Linked DNA regions of Homo sapiens: region 2 is linked to region 1. The links are contacts of gene promoters, found by promoter capture Hi-C in human tissues and cell types (Jung and others, 2019). All regions are on one chromosome and are shown on one strand. Each heading gives the region's core, a stretch centred on a gene start or on the middle of the fragment in contact. The rest is flanking DNA. Distances are from core to core; before and after follow the strand shown. Region 1 holds the start of TMEM177 (transmembrane protein 177). Region 2 has its middle 130 kb from the start of THORLNC.

Region 1 (3,346 bases), core at 336-2,835:
GCAGACTGAACATCCTCCAGGGTCCACACCACCTTTTTAAACCAAAGTAACACAGCATAGTGGTGAAGAGTGTGGGCTCTAGAGCCAGAGTGCCTGTGTTCAAATCCCAGCTCCGTCTCTGTGCGTCAATTTCCCCATGTGCCAAACAGGTGTGTCGTAATGGCCCACCTCTAGGGTGGCGGTGATGAGCACATGAATAAACATACATAAAACATTTAGTGTCTGGCACAGCAGCAGATATTCCTTATAATAATGGCTGTAATGACTTTTATTCCCATCGCTGGGCACGGCACTCCAACTGCCTCATTCCACTCATCCCATGGTAAAGCCCTATGATTACTAATTTATAAGGAAAAACGTGTTCAATTTATTGAGTGCTTACTATATGCTAGACTCAGTTCTGAGCACTCTTACCGATTGAACCCTCACAACCCCATGACCTAATTACTACAGCTAACCCTATTTCAAAGCTGTGAAAACTTAAATGGCCAAAATCCTAAGCTAGTGAAGTGACAGTGTTATGGGCTGCACTGTGTCTCCTCCTCCTCCCCAGTTCATATATTTAAGTCCTAACCCCCAGTACCTCAGACTGTGGCTGTATTTGGAGACAGGGTCTTTAAGGAGATAATTAAGATAAAATGAGGCCATCAGTATGGATCCTAATCCAATTTGACTGGTGTACTTATAAGAAGAGATTAGGATGCAAACAGGCACAGCAGGAAGATCATGTGAGGATCCAGGGAAAAGGCTACCACCTACAAGCCAAGAAGGGAGGTCTCAGAAGACACCAACCCTGTTAACACCCTGGTCTTGAACTTCCAGCCTCCATAACTCCCAGAGGACAAATTTCTGCTGGTTGGGCCACCCAGTCTCCGGTACTTCGGCATGGCAGCTCTAGCAAGCTAACACAGGCATAGTCAGGTGTCCACAGCAAACTTTTTGTTTTAGAAAACTTGTTATGCCAAATTACAAGCATATACCAAAGTAGACAAAATAGTACATCCATCAACTTCAATCCCATCAACTCATGGCCAATCTTGTTTGATTTCTCTTTCCACCACACTTCCGTCCAACTGGTTTATTTTGAAACATCCCCGGGCATCCTATCACTTCATCCGTGAATACGTCAGTAAAAATTCACAATTATTTCACTTTGATTGAAACTTACTGTATTCCTGTCCGTGAAAAGTGCTTAATGAGCAACGAATGAGTTGCCGCAAACAAAAACGCAGGGTACCGCTTGGCCTATCTTAATCAAGAACTCCTATAAGAATCATTATCATTCGGGCTTTTTTTTTTTCCCAATGCGGAAAGTGAGGCTAAGAAAGGAAAGGTCTGGACCAAAGTCCAACGTCCCTAGGGCCATCGCGCTGCGGGGTGGGCCTAGAACACAGTACCATGCAGCCCGCCGGTGGCTGGGGGAGGAGGGGCTGCAGGAGCCCCGCAGAGGGGTCCTCGCTACGCTTCCACTCTGGGCCCCTAGGCTACTCCGCAGTCTGAACGCGTTACCGGGTCGCATCAGGCCGGAGAAGGGTCCCTCCCGCTCGTCCGTGCGCTCACCTCCGCCGCCGCTCGGAACGCCTACATGTGCGCGCGGCAGGGCGGCCGCAAAGCACGCCGGCCGGGGATCTGGGGGCGGGGACTTCGGGAGGCGGAGCTCGCCGGCCCCGGATCTTGGGATGGGGACTTCAGGGGGCGGAGCTCGCCGGCCGGAGATCTCGGGGCGAGGATTTCAGGGAGGGGAGCTCGCTCGACGGGTCTGGGGGCGGGACTCTTGGGGGTGTGGCTGGGGGGGCCTCAAGGGGATGTCCGTGGGGGGCTCCGGCCGCCGCAGAGGCTCCTTCTCTAACTGTGCACCTTGGGGTGGGTCCGCTAGCACTTCCTCCTCTGCGTTGAAATGCGTCTTTGATTAATACAAAAATTAGCTGGGCGTGGTGGCGCACGCCTGTAGTCCCCAGCTGCTGGGGAGGCTGAGGCAGGAGAATCGCTTGAACCTGGGAGGCAGAGGTTGCAGTGAGCCGAGAATACGCCACTGCACTCCAACCTGGGCGACAGAGCGAGACTCCGTCACACACACACACACACACACACACCCCGGTGTCTTTGATCATGCCACACACACACACACACACACCCCGGTGTCTTTGATCATGCCACACACACACACACACACACACATACCCTGGTGTCTTTGATCATGACACACACACACACACACACCCACCCCGGTGTCTTTGATCATCACACACACACACACACACACACACACACATCCCGGTGTCTTTGATCATGCCGTTGAACCCCCGAAGGAACGGCAGCCCCGCGTGGGTCACCAGGCGGCCTATGGCAGGGCCCCCATCAGAACCCATGCCCATCTGACTGGCCGGCCCGTGTACTTCTCCGTCTGGAAGCGCTCACCCTTGGCGGGGAGCTCTGAGCTTTATGTTTATTACCATGTTCGCTGCCCCCCAAGCTCCTCCCAGGTGCTTCACACTGTACAGTCCACAGAGCAGCGTGCCATCTGTCATTTCTCCTTTCCAGCTGCTCTGTGAGGTAGATGAGGGATCATCTAATCTGTGCACCAAATCCAGCTCTCCACCTGCTTTTGTAAATAAAGTTTTCTTGGAACACAGCCATGCCCAATCCTTTACAGAGGGTGAAAACAGACTGCCTAGGGTTAAAGCCGGGCTCCACCCCTTACTAGCTGTGTGATAAAATGAGTTGGTGTATATGTAACCTGTGCCTCACGGTTTGTGCCGCCTAGCCATTAGCTATTATTATTAAAGTCTGTTCTGTTTCTGAGCCCCCCCCCCCAATTTTGGCTGCTCAGTTGTTTGTATGTAAATAGTGCAATGTGACCTCAGCCAAAGCCAGAATGTGGGACATTCTACAGGGCAAATGACGTGGTTTATCCAACAAATCAATGGCATAAACAGGGAAGGAGGGGGACTCAAAAGAAAAGAGACTTGAGAGTCATTGCAGTTAAATGCAATATGTGACTTTTATTGGGATCCTGAACCAAATAAACTAACTGTAAAAAAGACACCTTGGGCTGGGCGCGGTGGCTTACGCCTGTAATCCTGGCACTTTGGGAGGCCAAGGAGGGCAGATCACCTGAGGTCAGGAGTTCAAGACCAGCCTGGCCAACATGGTGAAACTCCGTCTCTACTAAAATACAAAAATTAGCCAGGCATGGTGGCACACGCCTATAATCCTAGCTATTCAGGAGGCTGAGACGGGAGAATCGCTAAAACCTGGGAGATGGTGGTTGCAGTAAGCCGAGATTGTGCCACTGCACTCCAGCCTGGGTGGCTAAGTGAGACTCTGTCTCAAACAAACAAAGGAA
Region 2 (3,804 bases), core at 825-3,324, 1.4 Mb after region 1:
AGGAATTCTGTGACAACTTTGCGGTGTCCAAATGATACTAATATTTATAGTCTTCTAGACAATTGTGCCCTGCTATAAAAGTGACATTTTTTAGGAGACACAACGAAAACAATAACAGCAATTGTCTCACCAATTGTAAGGCACAGTCTATAAATCACTGTGCCTTACTCCCCAACAAAAGAAAGAAGCAAAGCATTGTTCAGAACAGAACTGAAATGTGACCAGGTATTAAGATTGGAAAGACTTTCGAGCGGAAAAATCAAGGCACCGATATTAACACAAGCCAGTAAATAAATAGAGTCTGATTTGGCCACCAGCAACTTCTTAAACTTCTGGTTTAAGGTGGATGAGGATTTGAGAGTGATGTTATGGTTTGTCAACCCACACACATCTCTGTGGCTTTCAAATAGAGACAGCCTTCCTGAGTTCCTTCCAGCTTGGGGATACTATTTTTGCTAATGGCATTTTTAAGGGTCCAAACAGGCCATTTGCTTACATAAGAAATGCAATGGAAAGAGGCAACATCTTTTTTGTTGTCATTTTCTAGTTTGGCAAAACCACATCTTGGAAGTAAAGCAGAAATTTTGGAGGCAGTTTACCTAAGACCTCAAACCAAAATTTACAAACAGCTGGATAAATTCTTTAATGGGGCTGTATTTGTTCCTAAATAGTTGGCAACAGGAAGTATAATTTTCTTAAATTCATCCCTAACAAGCATTGACTCTTCCACCTTCTCTCTGTCCTACGTGGGACCTCCCACTTCTCCCTGCCCATCTCAAACCCTAATAAACAAATCCCTCTCTTACGCCATCAGCCTCAGAGAAACGTGAAGGAGTTTTTCTTGAGTTGAGTTCACAGCTGCCCTCTCAGGGCCACTGTAGTGTGCTGGGAGACCTGGAAACCTGGTGGGCAGAGAAACCAAAGTGGGAGGAGATTAGGGTTGGGTTGGAATGTGGGGGTGGGGGGAATTTGAGCAAGAACTTTGAATCTGAGAAGTCAGAGCCCAGGGTGCTGCCTGGAATTCCAAAATGGGGAAAGAGATCTCAGCTGCTTTCATATGGAAATTGGCCTGGAAGCTGACTTTGTCCCTGCTTGGAACCGAAGCCAAGACCAAGTTCAGTGAACCTAACACACCGTTCAATCAACCATTGAAACCCAGGAGAAGAGAAGGCAGGAAAGGGAGGGCAGAGGGTCAAAGAGGCTCGCCTTTCATTTGGACTTGGTTCCGGAGGTAACAGTAAGGAGGAATTAAACACTGGAAACAACTTGAAGGCAAAATCCCATCTATCAGGAAGGTGCATTCTGCCTGGCTTTAAATGAAAGAAAAGAAGGGGAAAGAAGAAGGAAATTGAAAAAGAAAGCAAGAAAGCAAGCAAGAAGGAAAAAAGAGAGAAAGATGTAGACAATGACAATCACTCAAAGCAATGATTCTGCAATTGACAAAATAAATGCAAATACATACACTGGGTGTAACTTAAAGAAGGAAAGAACTGACCTATAGTTGGCAAAGATTCCCCCCTCCCCACCCTCTTAGATAAAGGTTTTCAGAGACCTGAAGATTCTTAAAGCAGATACTAACTGGACTTCTGAAAGTTTACTTTAGGACTCGCTTTAACTTTGTTTTGTTTTTATTGCAGCTTGAAAAGAAAGTTGAAGAAGTACCTACTCTTTGCAAAAAGAAGCTACTATAGTTTCTTCCTAGATACTGTTTTGGGGACTAGTTTCTTGTCTTTTGTCCTTGATTTATTATTGCCTTTATGTGTTCTCCCCATTTGGTTCATTTTATTCTTATTTTAAAAGAACAGCTCCAAAGACCCTTCTATTTTCATGGAAATTGCTCAGTAGTAACAATTTCAGATAGCTTCCAAAAGAATAATCATCACACTGGCCATTTTACCCAAGAAGCTTTGCAGCATTTCACATAACAATTTACTAATTAATGACAAATTAAATGGAATCTGGTAAGAAGAATCAGAGGTTAGAGTGCTGGTATATATTGTGTGTAAAAAGGTATGCAAATATCTTCAGCCCATTTGTGGTTCATCAGTGGGAAATAATAGCTATTCTACTCGACAATTTCACATGCAGGAGGGCTGCCGCATAGAAGCAGAATTTGGAAATTATACATCATTTTAACTTTTTAACAGTTTTTCAGATTAGATACTGTTCCTTCATTTTAAAGGCACAATGAACTTAATCTTTTTTGTTTTAGTAGATGTAAAATCATGGAAATTCTACTATACTTTGCTGCTTATATTAATTACATATTTGCAAGCAAGAAGCAGTCTTTGGAAATTAGTGACTAAAGTTTTCATCTTTCACAGGAGAAAAAAAGTACTGACTCCAGTCTCCTGAAGCAAGCACTGGAAAACCATAGCCCACAGGCCAAATCTAGCCCTCTTCCTGTTTTTGTAAATAAAGTTTTATTGGAGCACAGCCACATTCATCTATCTACATAATGTCTATGGCTACTTATAAACTGCTATGGCAGAGTTGCAAGAAAAATCTCCTGGCCCACAAAGCCTAAAATATTTACGATCTGTTCCTTTACAAAAGGTTTGCCAATCTCTGCCCTAGAGGGTAAAGCTAGGGAGAGAACATTTATCATAAAGACAAAATAAAAGGTTTTAACTTATAAAATATCAAAATTAATTTAATGTGTCCTGTCACTACTTAAAGCCCACAAATGGTCACCGTCACTCCAGCTGTCACAGAAATTTGCCAAATGTTCTTTTCTTGCTCAGTGCACATGTAAGGGAAGTGCATTCTCTGTGCCCCAGTTCTTCTGTAGCCCGTTGAACAGGCTGGTCACCTCAGGGAAACACTGGTCATCCTTAATAAGAAAAGGCCTTGCAAAGAGTGAAATGTGTCTGCCATCCGTGGAAGTTCTAGGACAACACAGAAGGGTTCCCATGTCAAATAGGTGATTGCTTTGGACACATGTCAATTAATTTATTTTTACTGCTTTTAACTTTGAGAGTAAGACAAAATATCGTACCTGTCTTTATTATTCATCTTTAACTTATCTTCTTTTCAAAATATTAATACTCAAAAGGTATTTGGGGTCACAAAAATGTCTTATTACATTTAGAACATCCCCCCCTTGGATATAGGATGCTACACCCACACATTCATTCAACTTCTGAACATTCTATTTGTGTTGAGGGCACAGGGACACAGCCCAATACAAAACATTTCTTGCATGCCCACAACTTGGTATTATTACCAACAGCACCTGTCAGATCACAGCCAAACATGAGCTTAAAGCGACAAAATTGGTAAGTCAACTTGACGAAACATTATTATTTCTCCCGGTCAGTAGGTTGATAAGCATCTGAATTGGCTAGCTGCTCCAGCAAAATCTGTCTCTCAGCACAGTGTCAACCTCTTTCTCCTGCAGCTTCTAGTCTCTAAAATACCTCTGTGTGAGCCGGGTGCAGCAGCTCACACATGTAATCCCAGCACTTTGGGAGGTTGAAGCTGACAGATGACTTGAGGCCAGGAGTTCAAGACCAGCCAAGCCAGCATGACAAAACCCCATCTCTACTAAAAATATGAAAATTAGCAGGGTATGGTAGTGATGGCGCATGCCTGAAATTGCAGCTACCAGGGAGGCTGAGGCACGAGCATTGCTTGAACCCAGGAGGTGGAGGTTGCAGTGCAACTCCACTGCCACTGCACTCCAGCCTGGGCAACAAAGTAAGACTCAGTCCCAAAAACAGACCAAAACAAAACAAAATCTGTGTGCATTGTAGAACTGATGTCTTAGAAAAAGCACAGAACTAAGAGTTTGTAGCTTGACAG

What was found. Contacts are between HindIII fragments. The study calls those that stand out against the background at their distance.
Region 2: a contact is called between a fragment that was not itself captured here and the fragment with the promoter of TMEM177 in region 1, in 1 of the 25 tissues and cell types used here (lymphoblastoid cells).

The regions. Positions count from the first base shown.
Region 1 is chr2:119,677,440-119,680,785 of GRCh38, reverse strand. TMEM177 (transmembrane protein 177) reads right to left here and starts at 1,585. Exons shown (of 2, transcript NM_030577.3): 1 at 1,510-1,585. RefSeq lists a silencer at 1,509-1,738. The HindIII fragment of the contact is 8,254 bases long and covers 1-3,346 here.
Region 2 is chr2:118,316,688-118,320,491 of GRCh38, reverse strand. No RefSeq gene overlaps it. Among named protein-coding and RNA genes, the nearest start is that of THORLNC, 130 kb to the right of the region's middle. The HindIII fragment of the contact is 7,555 bases long and covers 1-3,804 here.